Linked DNA regions of Homo sapiens: region 2 is linked to region 1. The links are contacts of gene promoters, found by promoter capture Hi-C in blood cells and fetal thymus (Javierre and others, 2016). All regions are on one chromosome and are shown on one strand. Each heading gives the region's core, a stretch centred on a gene start or on the middle of the fragment in contact. The rest is flanking DNA. Distances are from core to core; before and after follow the strand shown. Region 1 holds the start of GAD1 (glutamate decarboxylase 1). Region 2 overlaps CIRSR (corepressor of RBPJ and splicing regulator).

What was found. Contacts are between HindIII fragments. The CHiCAGO score rates a contact against its expected background, and 5 or more counts as called.
Region 2: a contact is called between a fragment that was not itself captured here and the fragment with the promoter of GAD1 in region 1, in 1 of 17 cell types (total B cells). The highest score is 7.1, in total B cells.

Annotation. Positions count from the first base shown.
Region 1 is chr2:170,813,267-170,820,617 of GRCh38, forward strand. GAD1 (glutamate decarboxylase 1) reads left to right here and starts at 3,621. Exons shown (of 17, transcript NM_000817.3): 1 at 3,621-3,782; 2 at 5,263-5,407. The coding sequence starts at 5,326. GAD1-AS1 (GAD1 antisense RNA 1) reads right to left here and starts at 5,385. Exons shown (of 4, transcript NR_197761.1): 1 at 5,120-5,385; 2 at 4,452-4,649; 3 at 3,588-3,766; 4 at 1,357-3,219. RefSeq lists a silencer at 3,436-3,515 and enhancers at 3,603-3,772, 5,012-5,535, 5,536-6,058. The HindIII fragment of the contact is 11,655 bases long and covers 1-6,105 here.
Region 2 is chr2:174,349,763-174,357,113 of GRCh38, forward strand. CIRSR (corepressor of RBPJ and splicing regulator) reads right to left here. Exons shown (of 10, transcript NM_004882.4): 8 at 1,857-1,963; 9 at 898-983. Among named protein-coding and RNA genes, the nearest start is that of SP9, 18 kb to the left of the region's middle. The HindIII fragment of the contact is 2,171 bases long and covers 2,044-4,214 here.

The sequences.
Region 1 (7,351 bases), core at 2,371-4,870:
GATTTAGCTATGATCCTTCAAAAAAGTCCAGAATAATTCAGGGAACTATCTTTAAAGTACAAAAACAGCAAATGGACCTTAGCTCCGACTTAAGCAGAATGAAAGGTTAAGTAACGCTTCCCCCAGTTCTCGTCTCGGGAGACAGACGTTTAACCGGTGAGCACTGCCATTTTTTTTTTCCTTTCTGGTCATAAATTAGACACTTAAAATAGATTTTAAGGAGCCAGCTGAAACGAACCAATACCATGGCTCTAAATTACGTTTCCTGGAGGCTAAAAATTCTAATTGCGTCAAAAAAAATTGACGTGTCCTGTCTACTCACCTTGACTGACCACGTTTTAGGCGTGAAGATCTCCCCGCAGCCCGTTTGGGCGCTCCTTCAACGCCTCACGCTCCTCCTACTCACCCGTTTTTCCCTTTGCAGAAAAGGCTTGGCCCCAAATCCGGTTGGAATATCTTTAAACAATCCCCCACCCACCCACGACGGGGAAAGGAATAAAGGGCATTGTGGGCGGAGGGTCGTGTTCCCAAGTCCCAGCGGTGGTTGACCTAAGGAAACGTTATCCTCGGCAGACAGGGTGGAGTAGCCGGGGCTGCAAGCTCGCAAATCCCTAATGCCGGAGAGAGACTGGAGGGGTCGCATATCGCCCCCTCCTTCTTCTGCCTTTGAGCGCCGCGTTCCCATTTCTTCAAAGCGCTTCAAATACAATCGAAACAGCTGGGCGGACACCACTCCCTTCCGGGCCACCCCTCATCACCGGTTCGAGTCCCCGGAGAGGATATCTTTTTTCCACCCCCATTATCCCAAGAATCCTCCCCCAGGAATGATAAAAGATTAAAGGAAGAGTGAAAGACATAAACAAAAATATAGGTTTCAAATGTTGTTTAGAGCCGAATGACAACCACGGCCACTCTTAGTTCAAATTCCTACCGGAGAGAAGAGCAGTGGGCGAAATACCTCACCCCCCAACTAGGCAAAACAAACAGCAGTTACTGTCAGGAGGGAGGAGGGCTGGGGCGAGTCTGGTGGGTTGGCCCATAGCTATTGGCGGAAGCAAACGAAACAGAGGCATGGGGACCAGAAGGACGGGCGCTGTCCTTCGTGCTGAAAGATCTATGCCCTACCTCAAAACTCAGTAATCTGGATGGAGTGGAATTCCAGGCCTTCAATTCATTACCATTCCTGCTGTGCCCAAGAGTTCGAGTTGGAGGAGATCATTGAAAATTAAATCAAATTTATGAAGTTTCTAAGTGCGCTCCTCTCCCTGCCTCACCGGAATGTCCACTCCCGGCGTGCAGGATAATATAAACCGCAGGGACAATGCAAGCTCCAAAAAATAAGTGCTTGGCACATAGTAGGGGATTAATAAATATTCGTTTAATCAATTACTGCTAATATTCAATTAAACATTCTAAACAAGGACGGACAAAAGTCTTCATTCCTCCCCTACTCACCATAAAGGAGAAAGAGAGGGATGTCCTCGAAGCTGGACGGACTCAGCTTCAGCTTGCGTTACCTAGCCTTGCAGGAGATTCCTTCTCCAACGAGATTATTTCATTGGCTAAAACGTTAGGGGTGTTTTGAACTCTGGGGTCAAAGGAGGAAGTGGTTGGAAATGTCTCAATCTCGTGCCACAGGTGAAGTAAACGAATCTTCCTTTCCAGGGAATCACGGGTTTTGGGAAAAGGTTGAGGCGAGCGGGCGTCTATGCTGGACAATGAAGAACGAGGGGCACCGGGAGATGTGTTGCCTCCTCCTTCCTGTCTCCTGCCCCGTGCGTCTTGAATGATTTAGCACTGGCACCTGGCTCCCTGATTGGTGCGAGCGTCTCGTTTAGGGAAGGCTCTAGGAGGGCCGGTGGATGGAATTCCGAGCTTCACCTGGTTGTATGCCGCCCACTTCAAGCAGCGCAGAGCAGCTGCCGGTTGAGTGGTTTGGGGGGACGTTTCCTACGTGGAGCAGACACCCCCAGCCTGTCCAGCCCCAAGCCTCAGTGCCCGGGGCTGCAGTCACCGCGCGCCCCGCCGTTTAGGATGTTTTTTGTGTCCTTAAAAAGTGCCGGGGATTTCATCGTCAGGTGGAGACAAGGCGACAAAACAGTAGTTTCTTTAGTACCAAAGGCAACGCGATTATTTCAAACCCCACAGCGAGATCCCTCTTGCTGATCAGGCCATGTCTGCCCAGGGCGGACCCTTCGATCTCCCTTATGGAACTCTCGGTAATTTATAATATTTTTGTGTGTGTTTCCATTGTGTTGTGGTGAAAGGCGATAAGGCATTCAAAGAAAACGGACGGGCCTCCGCTGAACCAGTGAGGCCCCAGACGTGCGCATAAATAACCCCTGCGTGCTGCACCACCTGGGGAGAGGGGGAGGACCACGGTAAATACCAGTAAAGGAATCACTGCCTACACGGTGTCACCCAGACACGCACAGACATCAACATTTTTGCCCTAAAGAAAAAAACTGGGGGAGAAGAAAGGGGAGAACTTAAACTAGTGACAGGGCGGTGAGGGAAGGCATGAAGAGGCAAGCCGGCGCGTAACCGTCTGGCCAGCAGCTCCAGGTGTGGGCTCCGCTCGGGCGCTGGCGGAGAGACCCGGGAGCGCAGGGCCTCTCCGTCTCTGGGCTCTTGGCGCCCTCTGGTGGGAATTTCTCTTTCAACGCATTTTTACGGCGAGGGGCTTCTCCCAACGCAGCGGTTCTTTTAACTACGCCTAAATATTGCAAAGGGAGAATCCTTAAAGCGCGTGAAATCGAAGGGGGAGCGGGCCAGGGCAAGGGGGGCTGGTCCGCCCCTTCCGGGCACCTCTGTGCTCGGGTGCCCCATGCGCGTGCAGCGGCGCTCGTGCGTGTCATCAACCTTCAAACGTGATTAATCAGGAGGCCTTCTTTTCCCATCACCAAGGGGGCCAAAGCGAGGAGCGAGCGCATAGCAAAAGGGACGCGGGGTCCTTTTCTCTGCCGGTGGCACTGGGTAGCTGTGGCCAGGTGTGGTACTTTGATGGGGCCCAGGGCTGGATGAGGAAACTGTAATTCCTCCATGGTCTAAGAGGTCTCCCCTCATTTCTGCCTCCTTTGCGGTTACAACAATCCCAGCTCCGTAGAGAGCCAACGAGGACACGACCCAAAGCGCGCTTTCGCTCAAGGAAGCGTCGCAGGGTCACAGATCTGGGGGAACCCCGGGGAAAAGCACTGAGGCAAAACCGCCGCTCGTCTCCTACAATATATGGGAGGGGGAGGGGAAATGGGAGAGGGGAAAGGAGGGGAGGGAAGAAGAAACGCTCAGAAAGGCAGAATTCTTCGTAGGAATTATCTTTTCCCTCCTCTCACCCGACAGCCTGCCTATTTCCAAAGGAAAAAAAAAAAGCGTGTTGAGTACGTTCTGGATTACTCATAAGACCTTTTTTTTTTCCTTCCGGGCGCAAAACCGTGAGCTGGATTTATAATCGCCCTATAAAGCTCCAGAGGCGGTCAGGCACCTGCAGAGGAGCCCCGCCGCTCCGCCGACTAGCTGCCCCCGCGAGCAACGGCCTCGTGATTTCCCCGCCGATCCGGTCCCCGCCTCCCCACTCTGCCCCCGCCTACCCCGGAGCCGTGCAGCCGCCTCTCCGAATCTCTCTCTTCTCCTGGCGCTCGCGTGCGAGAGGGAACTAGCGAGAACGAGGAAGCAGCTGGAGGTGACGCCGGGCAGATTACGCCTGTCAGGGCCGAGCCGAGCGGATCGCTGGGCGCTGTGCAGAGGAAAGGCGGGAGTGCCCGGCTCGCTGTCGCAGAGCCGAGGTGGGTAAGCTAGCGACCACCTGGACTTCCCAGCGCCCAACCGTGGCTTTTCAGCCAGGTCCTCTCCTCCCGCGGCTTCTCAACCAACCCCATCCCAGCGCCGGCCACCCAACCTCCCGAAATGAGTGCTTCCTGCCCGCCCTAGTCCCTGCTCTCCACGGGTGCGCTGCGCAGGGACCCCCCCCCCCCCGCCTCCCTCGTCACTCTTCTTATCCCTGCCCTCCGGATTCACGCCCCGGGGAAGCACGGAGGCTGAGGCTCTAGTTGAAGTGGGGCAAGAGCGATTTTCCCTTGAGCTTCCATGCTGCGAGCGCCTGTCCCTCCAAAGGGCGCCTGGGCAGCAGCAGCCGAAGGCGCTACTAGGAACGGTAACCTGTTACTTTTCCAGGGGCCGTAGTCGACCCGCTGCCCGAGTTGCTGTGCGACTGCGCGCGCGGGGCTAGGAGTGAGGTCGGAGGGAGGGTGTGGAGGCGATGGCCGGTGGGCCCTTCTCTGTGGGGTCCTCGATCTACCCAGATTAGCCCGCAATCTCTCTGTCCCGGGGCCTTCGGGCGCCATCGCGCCAGCGCCGAGAGTCGAGCAGGGGCGCCGCGCAAGATCTTTGTCCGCCGCCTCCTGCGCGCTGCGCGCAAGTTCGTTTCCCCGGTGACGTTCCCCATGCTTACTTACCCCACCCTCTCTGGATCTGTACCGCGAGAAATCTGGGGTCCTCAGGGGGCTAGGTAGAGGAGAAACGCTGAAACCGGACCGAAACCTCGCCCTAGGCTTAGCGATGGCTAAAAACCGGCTGGGATAAGAGGGAGGCAAGCAACATTCCGACTCGCTGCTTTCTGGCTGTCTGGAGTGCAAGGTGACTGTGGTTCTTCTCTGGCCAAGTCCGAGGGAGAACGTAAAGATATGGGCCTTTTTCCCCCTCTCACCTTGTCTCACCAAAGTCCCTAGTCCCCGGAGCAGTTAGCCTCTTTCTTTCCAGGGAATTAGCCAGACACAACAACGGGAACCAGACACCGAACCAGACATGCCCGCCCCGTGCGCCCTCCCCCCGCTGGCCCACACGCCGGCTGCTGAGTGCCCAATGGGGCTTGTAGCGGCTCGGCTGGAAAATCGCTCACTGAGCGCTCCCCTGTGCTCCTAGCCTAGTCCCCCACACCCTTGCGTCTTGTACTGGCCTTGGACCCCCACCCCGACCCCGACCCCGCCTCGTCTCGGCGCTTCACTCCAGGTCGCGCCGATGCACCGCCAGACTCGAGAGCGGCCCAGGGCTACGCTCCCTGCGCCCCAGTACCGGAGCTAGCGCGCACGTCTCCTCCGCTGCCCCCACCCCTGCGCACCCCTACCAGGCAGGCTCGCTGCCTTTCCTCCCTCTTGTCTCTCCAGAGCCGGATCTTCAAGGGGAGCCTCCGTGCCCCCGGCTGCTCAGTCCCTCCGGTGTGCAGGACCCCGGAAGTCCTCCCCGCACAGCTCTCGCTTCTCTTTGCAGCCTGTTTCTGCGCCGGACCAGTCGAGGACTCTGGACAGTAGAGGCCCCGGGACGACCGAGCTGATGGCGTCTTCGACCCCATCTTCGTCCGCAACCTCCTCGAACGCGGGAGCGGACCCCAATACCACTAACCTGCGCCCCACAAGTAGGTCCCGCCCCAATTTTCTATCAAATGAACTGCAGGGAAGATGGGGGCGCTGGGACGTCGGGAGGCTGAGCTGGCGGAAAGGGAAGGGGGAGCGCGGAGATAATGGAGGCTGGGAAATAAATGGGGCTCTGACCCCGTCCCTGCCAGAGGTCATTCGGCTGTCAGGGACGCTAGGTGACTCCCAGGGCACCGGAAAGCGAGGACCACGCAAGGTCCGAGCAGCGGCGATCGTTGAGGGCTTCGCGGAGGAGGAGGGGCGCGCAGCCAGGGTGTTGTTTTTATTCTGTTGTGTGTGGTTTCTTTGCTCCGTGGGACGACAGGGGTCAGCGCAGGGGGCGGAATGAAGAGCTAGGAGCCCCAGCAGGAATAAGAGTTTTCAGTCCCCGGCTTTCGTTGAGCCAAGATCTGACCTCCTCCTTTCCCCCTGGGCTGTGTTCAAAGTCTATAATCAGCGGAAATTTCGACGTTAATTGCAGCTTTTAGAAAACTCAAGGTCCCTAATTGCTCCAAATTTGCATCAAGCTATTGACGAGTTAGGGAGAAGTCAGGGGCGGGAAAGGTGCATAAAACTGAGACTGAGCCTTGACATTTCATACAATTAATTACATCTCAGAGAAATAAATAAATAAATAAATAAATAGGGGAGCGGGCGGCATCCTGAGTGGCAAGAGATGGGGAACTGGGAGGGGGCAAGAAGCTTTATCATAGAGAGGAGAGAGCACCTCTCTCCTTATCCCAGGCAAGAGATCTGTCAGGAGGTGACATGTCCCGAAAAGAGAGAAAGAAAAGAGACACCAGATAAAAGAGGGGGGAGGATTTATGCTTCCCTGTCTTAAGTGCGACAGGCTCCTCAACCCATTTCCAGAATCTATCTTTAATTTTATTTCCTACCTCTGTAAAGGCTTGAGATGAGAAAATTGTTTTTCTTTTTCCTTGTTGGAGTGAAGAAGTGTCTCCTGACCCCACCCCCCTAAAAAAACTTATCAGCTTCAGACTGTAAGTGTTCCCACTCCCCCATTTATTTATTTCTGAGATGTAATTAATTGTATGAATTTCCAGAATTTGTATACAGAAAGGGCTTAAGAAGGATAGTGTGGTTACAGGGAGTGCTTATTGATGCGCTTTTATGGCACTTTATATTTGAGAAAATAAGTATCCTCATCAATGAAGTGGGGATTATTACCGGAAAGCCCCTTTAGACGCTGGCATTGGCTCCCGGGCAGGAGGTCTCGTGTTAAGTCCTCAGGTCTCATTCCAATTTCCTTTGCAGCTCCCTCTTCCCGCCACCCAGGAGGGATACAATTACCCACACAACAAAGAGGGCCTCGGGAGAGTCGCCAGCCCTGGTAGCATATGAACCAGGCACCGGCGTTGGAGCTGGCCAGGGCAGGGCGGGAGGAACGCGAGGCCTGCGCGCCTTTGTGTGGTGCTTTCGCCTTGATGGATTTCTTTTCTGACGCTTTCCACATTTCCCGCTCCCTTTTGCCGCCTGGGGGTGGGGGTGGGGGGTTAGCGGGCAGTTGTGTTAATTTGCCCTCCACTCCCGGCGCCCTTACGGAATTCCCGGTGGCCGCCAGTCGCCGGCGCAAATGCCAAGTCACCGGTAGGAGACACAACAGAGGCGATGACCTGAATCCGCACGTGGCCTGGTTCGCCTGGAAGCTGCCAAAGCGAAGGCAAGAGAGCCCGGGACCCTGCTGTAAAACAGCAAGCAGCACGTGTCCCAGGCACACTGTTGCGGGCCCTTAGCCTAGCTACGCATCCGCACCCCAGGCTTCAAAGGCGCGCTGGGCGCTCTATCCACTCTCACCCTCCCTTGCAGACAATACCTTTGCCCGCCCAGCTGGCTCCACTTCTTTGCCCCTTTAGAGTCTCCTGGGAGGTGGCGTTAGTGCAGGCAACCTAAGGCACTCTCTTGTTCCAGAAACCCTTGGGTGGGGC
Region 2 (7,351 bases), core at 1,879-4,378, 3.5 Mb after region 1:
TTATATAGCACTCTAAAGGGTCATCCTAAAGAAAGCCTGTGAAAGGTGTGTAACATCAGTTGGAACTACTAAAAAAGCAAATATATAGCTATAATCAGATGAAAAATTAATTTTATGTACTATTTTATAGTATATAAATATTAATCAACGTTATCAAAATTCAAGAGAATATTCTCCAGAAATTCTGAGTAAGAGTACACATTAAACTTCTGAAATATTGGTTTTATAAAATAATATAGTTAATACTTGTTTTCAACAATTGTTTAGTTTTATAAATAGGACAATCCTATTAAAACATTCTGAATTTCTAGAGTACTTCACATTCTTGGAGGAGTAACTTGTTTATATGGTATGTTTGAGTTACTCTGAAAATAAGTCTCTAGGTTCTGTCTAGCCATTCTCAAAACTCTACATACTGAAAGCATCATGAGCTCCCTCTATTGGACCCAGCAGACATTTCTTGGATTCTTTTAATTCAGAGGTAGTCTGTTTAACAAAATTCACGTTTACCTTAAATTTAAGCATTCTTTCTGCATTCTCATAAAATTTTACAAAACATTTTAAAAATGGCCAAAAATGTTTCCTAAGAACAAATTGTGTGCGAAGATACACACAAATCTATTTTGAAAAGTAAAAGCTATAAATAAGTCTAATTCTAAATTAAACATTCTGAAAAGTGCAATCGTTTTGTGGTACAATCTGAGTATACAATCTTACACTCATTTCCATGTTACTGAAAAGACAGACAAAATTGTATTAGCTATGGGTGAAGAATAATCAATAAATGTGATGCATGGTATAAGGACCTTCATGAGCTCTTAGGATCAGAGTTGAATACGATACTGAGATGAATACTAAGGAAAAAATAAATCTATTAAATATATACTTCTAAATTACCTGAGAAGTTTCTGTTTTTGTTTGGTTGTTAGTGACTTTAAAAATTCAACTTCTGGATCTTCTTCACCCTCACTTGCAACATACTCCTGAGTCAACAAAGATATCATTAAATTGCTAGATTTCAACACAAGGTAGTTAGTAGATAAAAAAGAAAACATTTATAAATAAGTTTTGTATCAGGGACACACTGTAGATGAATATGATATTTTGGATTGGGAAGTGGGAGAGAATTAAAAAATTTTTTTGTAGTCTCCCTGCCGAAGTGGATCATACAGCACTAAGAGGTTAACATGACTGCTTTGCCAGCATTAGGAAACTTTTCCAGGAAAAGGATGATAGACACACACAGATAAAATGTTTAGAGCATGACTTCCATTCTCTATCTCTTGAATGTTAACTCTTGCCAGTTTAAATACTTTATTTTTAATTTAATGAAATATAAAAAAGAAGATTATGAGTTTTACAGGAATGTCAAAATATCCACAATTTTAGCTTTTATTATAATTTCAACAGCACATTATCAAATATATAATAATATAGCCCTTCAAACTCAATCATTTTCTGGATCTATGTATAGTTTAATAAAATAAATAAGTTTAAAATATTTTCTACAATTTTTAGGAGTTTTTACATACTTCTAACCATTGGTTCTATTTAATGTCATATCAGGGGTAAGTTAGCAGGAAGGAAAAACCAACAACCTCATCACCAGTTCAGTTAGATATTTTATCCACATAAACTCAGAGGAGCAGTTTCATTTATTAAAATACAGGTTTATAAACAATTTCTCATTTAGATTAAAATAATAAAGCAAAATCAAAACACATTTTGGGCATTTTCTTTGCTCTATCTTACTTTCCTATGGATATATGCATATTGGAAAACATTAAGTAGCAATTCACAAGCAATCACATTTAGATTTATAGACATTTTCAGCTTACTGATAAAAAGATCATTACCTGTGATGGATCATTTGCGGTCAAGTTTCTCCCCAGTACATTTCGTTTCAGTGCAAACCCACTGTTTCTCATCTCCGCTATTAGCTCCGAGGGGTGCATCGATGGCCCTGTTCACAAAAATCACAGTTTGAATGTATCATTTATATCTCTCTACCTTTTTCGGACTCCACAGTAGGAATGCAGTTGAAGCTTTGTTAAGTAAAATCACAGCTAAATCAACTCAATAATCTTCTGCTGAGCAAATAATCAGATATGATTTTCTAAAACAGCAGTCTGGAGATTCAGAATAGAAAATAATTGCATTTTTCTTTACGTGCAAGGGGAGTCTTCTTATGTAACTTTGTCATATTGAAAAAGATACATTTAGATGTTATCTGGTTGGCAGTTTTTAGTATAAAATCAAAGCAAAATATTATAATAAAAAACTACAATTAAACTTTTAGTAGTTATTCTCTCAGTAAGAGTTCATTTAAAAGATGTATTTTTAAAGGTACATGAGGAATTTATCATCCTTATTTCCAATTCAAAATTCCTCATCCTTATTTGTCAAATAACAATACTGAATACATTGCCAAGTGGTTGCTAATCACACACACACACACACACACATACACACACACACACACCTATGGGTAACCACCAAGTACTTTAATTAATCTTGCTTTTATTCCCAGATTTCAAAATTTTTAATTACTAGCTTGGGTTGCTAACAAGCAGTTTTAGGCTGGCTATTGGTATGTATGTTTTATATTTTTTTACACTACACTTCCACTTTTGCAAAATCTCAGACTGAAAAGTGAGCTTTTTGTTTCCCAAATATGAACTAACAATAAATTTTAAAAATTTTCAGCTGGGAGTGGTGACTCATGCGTGTAATCCCAGCATTTTGAGAGGCAGAGGCGGGAGGATCACTTGAGCCCAGGAGGCCAACTTGGCCAACATGGCAAAACCATGTCTCTAAATAAATAAATAATTTTTTTTTAAAGGTTTGCCCCCTGCCCTCAAACATAAGGTTTATGTAAGGTAAGAGAGACTCTTATCTCATTTTGTATATTCCTGTTTCATTTTGTTTTCCCTGCAGATAGCAAACTAATGACAACATTTCATGGCAGCTATTTAAAGTTGCCAGCCTAAATCACCTACACTGGCTTAAATGACGTACTCCAGCTGATGTGTCTGTCACTTAGGGAAGAATGAGACAGTTACTGCCAAAAAGGAGTTCATACGGGAGGGTAGGGGGATAGAAAAATATTCAGAAATGAGTTCTTTAGTTTGCTGGTTGAATACTTTGTCTATTTCTTTTTACTGCTTTGTTGGTCTTTTACCACTTATTTGCGCACTCACCTGCATATTATCATGGAAAGCAAAAGGCAATCAGTTCAAATTTGTTTACCTGTCAATAGCAGATGTGGTTAAAAATTTGGTGAGAAAAACTCAGTTATAAGATAATATATTTTACTGGACTTTCCAGGCTTTACCATTCCATTCATATTGCGAAGAACAACTGTAAGTTTGCCCTAGGTACTAGGGAGATGATGGGGAAAAACTGTCTATTATTGGAGTATGGGGGAAGTTATTAATGATGTCATAGTTTTAGGAAAAAAAGCCTTATTTAGTTAAAAACAAACAAAAACACCTGTCTTATATTAATATTTCATTTTAAACCAAGAGGGTTTTTAATTTTTTTCTTCTATACAAAATGTTTAATTCCTATGTATTACTTTAATGGCCCTTTAATTATTCAGTCTGGTTGTTAACATTGATAATACAATCTTAAATAAAATTGAATTTTAAATATTAATACTGGTTGCCTCTAAATGGCATAGAGGTGCTCATACAATTAAGAGCTTTTTGTGTGTGTGTGTGTGAGATGGAGTCTTGCTCTGTTGCCCAGGCTGGAGTGCAGTGGCACGATCTCGGCTCACTGCAACCTCCGCCACCTGGGTTAAAGCAATTCTCCTGCCTCAGCCTCTGGAGTAGCTGGGATTACAGGCAACTGCCACCATGCCTGGCTAATTTTCGTATTTGTAGTAGAAACGGGGTTTCACCATGTTGGTCAGGCTGGTCTCAAACTCCTGACCTCGTGATCTGCCAGCCTCAGCCTCCTAAAGTGCTGGGATTACAGCCGTGAGCCACCGCGCCCGGCTCAATTAAGAGCTTTAAATGAATAATAGAATGTTTACTTTGGTGGCTTCTCAAATTTCACATGTAGGAACTTAATTTTATAAAGTAGAAAATGTCTCTTCTGAAGTGTCAAAACTACATTTCCTTGTCAACAATTTTATTAGATATCGAATGAATTCAGACACCAAACTTGTTAATAATTAGAATAAAAACCACTCCAATAAAGGGTCACAAAGCTTGGCCATCATGATGAGAGGTTATACTAATTTCATCAGTTTTCATCACAAGATGGGTAATTTTAATAAGATGTTATAGAAAGCATGCCTTCTTTACAGTACTTCCAACTATGTCAAGAAAATGATGTATTTCCCCAGTGTTACAGAGATTATACAGACTATTAAACAATCATTACTCTTCTAGCATTTATATTTTTCAAAAATCCCAACTGAAAACTCTGTGTAGTATATAAATTTAGCACACTTTCACAATGTATGACTGTAAATAGAGTGCTTAGTGAAGTGCTCGACAAATAGTACTTAATAAAGAGTAACAACTATTATTTTTACCAGTACCTATTCAACTTTCTTATATAAGAAATTGTCTTTTTATAAGATATATTATATATGTACATATATTACTTATATATGTACATATATATTTTATATATTATATATAATATATATTATATGATATATATAATATATTATATAATATAATATATAAAATATATATAATATATATTATATTATATAAATTATATTATATATATCATATAATATATTTTATATATTATATAATATATATTATATTATATATATTTTATATATTATATTATATATTATATATATCATATAATATATATTATATTATATATTTTATATATTATATAATATATATTATATATTTTTATATATTATATAATATATATTATATATTTTATATATTATATAATACATATATTATATATAATATAATATATATTATATAATATATATTTTACATATGTATATATATTATATATATATATATTTTTTTTTTTGGTAGAGACAGGGTTTTGCCATGTTGCCCAGGCTGGTCTTGAATGCCTCAGCTCAAATAATACACCTGCCTAGGTCTCCCAAAGTACTGGGATTACAGTTGTAAGCCACTGCACCCGGCCACTATCCAAATTCCATGACTATCTTACGGTACTTTTCATAATACAAAAAAATGCTCTTAGTAGTAATACTTTTCACAATGCAGTCTTATTCACATTTTTTTTATACTTAAACCTTCTCCTATCAACCAAAGTTCTGAGTTTAAAGTTCTAGGTTTAGGAGATGAAACAAGTCAGGTTTAATCAAGATATATTTAGCAAGTATCTTTCTACTTTCACATTATTATGACAGAGGCTACGTAGAGTTACACTGACAGAAATGACTCCAGATCTTTTGAGAACTCAAAATTTGGTTGATAAAATAGATGATTACAGATACGTTGATAAAATAGATTACACAAATATGTTCAAATGTAAAATAACTACTTTTATGTATGGTGCCTTAATAATTTCAATTATAGCTGGAGTTGGATCTTAAAAATTGTTTGGCTTATTCTTAAATTTGTCATGGTAGAATAATACTAGAGAATTCAGAAAGAAGGCATTTGTTCTAAAATGCAGATTTGTGAGGGCTCCTTTCTAGATCATCTCAGCCAAGCCTTCACAGCATTGAAAACCAATGTTCCCACTTAGAAAAGCAGGTCCACTGAAGAAACTGCTTTCAACATTCATTTATTTTACAAACTTTTCTTTGCTGTGATATGGATAAGTATCAAAATACCAATTGTGTACAGTTCCATGTTCTGATTAGACCCAGGCTCTACTAGAAAAATACCATGAAATCGAGTCTCAGGAAAGAAAAAATTCCTAGAAGGTAAATTATGCTATACAAAATTATGTGTGTAAAGCGCTTAATCTACTCACTAAGAGTATTCATTTTTACAGAACAAAAACAATGAAAGGTAAAAAAAGAATGTCCTGTTGTAAAATAGGTATTTTATCAAAGAATAATATATAAACTCAAAAGTTCTGGCTATGAGGAAATGGCATACAACTGACTCCACAATTATAGTATGGCAGTCCCAGGGGAATGCCACAAATGGCATAGGAGGGAGACTAAAGCTGAAGTCAAAGACACTTGTGTTTCACTGCAAACACTAGGTCCATCTGCTCCATTCGAAGTTCATCATTCTTTTCTTTAGCCAGGATGGTCTTGATCTCCTGACCTCGTGATCCACCCACCTCGGCCTCCCAAAGTGCTGGGATTACAGGTGTGAGCCACCACACCTGGCCCATCATTCTTTTCAAACAATGCATTATCACCTACAATTTTATGGTATTAAGTAGGAGAAAAGGGGGCAGTGAGTTGTAGGTTAGGTAAGGCTGAATTAGAAATGCCTTTCCTGGCCAGGCGCAGTGGCTCATGCCTGTAGTCCCGGCACTTTGGGAGGCAGAGGCGGGTGGATCGCCTGAGTCCAGGAGTTCAAGACCAGCTTGGGCAACATGGTGAGACCCTGTCTCTACAAAAAATACAAAAATTAGCTGGCCGTGGTGGCGCACATGCCTATACTCCCAGCTACTAGAGAGGGTGAGGTGGGAGGATCACTTGAACACAGGAGGTTGAGGGTGCAGTGAGCCTGTGATCTCACCACTGCACTCCGGCCTCAGCAACAGAGTGAGATCCTGTCAAAAGACAGACAGAAAAAAAGACAGACGGGAAGGAAGAAGGGAAGGAAGAAAGAAAGAAAGAAGAAAGGAAGGAAGGAAGGAAGGAAAGGAAGAAAGAAAGGAGAAAGAAAGGAAAGAAAGAAAGAGGGAGGGAGGGAAGAAGGAAGGAAGGAAGAAGGGGAAGGGGAAGGAAAGAGGACAGACTGACTGACTGGCCTGTCTCTCCTTCTCCCAAATTTAATATATTATGTACTTAATTTATAGGATGCCACTGTTGGCTGAAACTAAATTGCTACCCTAAAGTGAATATAGTTTTGCTTCCTATTACAGTGATGATCTATTTTTTTTCCCTTCTCATTGTGTGTGTGTTTTAATTTAACTTTATACTACGGAAAATTGCAAACCTACATCACATAGCTTCAACAATTAACAATATTTTGTCATTCTTGTCTTAGCTATTACTTCCAAATTTATTTTTTTCATAGAATATTTTAAATAAAATCTCAACCTCAATACCTTTATTATGCTTCTCAACATTGATAATTTTAAAATGTCATCGAATAGTCAACATTCAGATTTCTCAAACTGTCTCAAAAGTATCTTTTTACAGTTGGTTTGCTCAGATTAGGATACAAACAAGGTCCACATATTGTATTTGATTTATAGA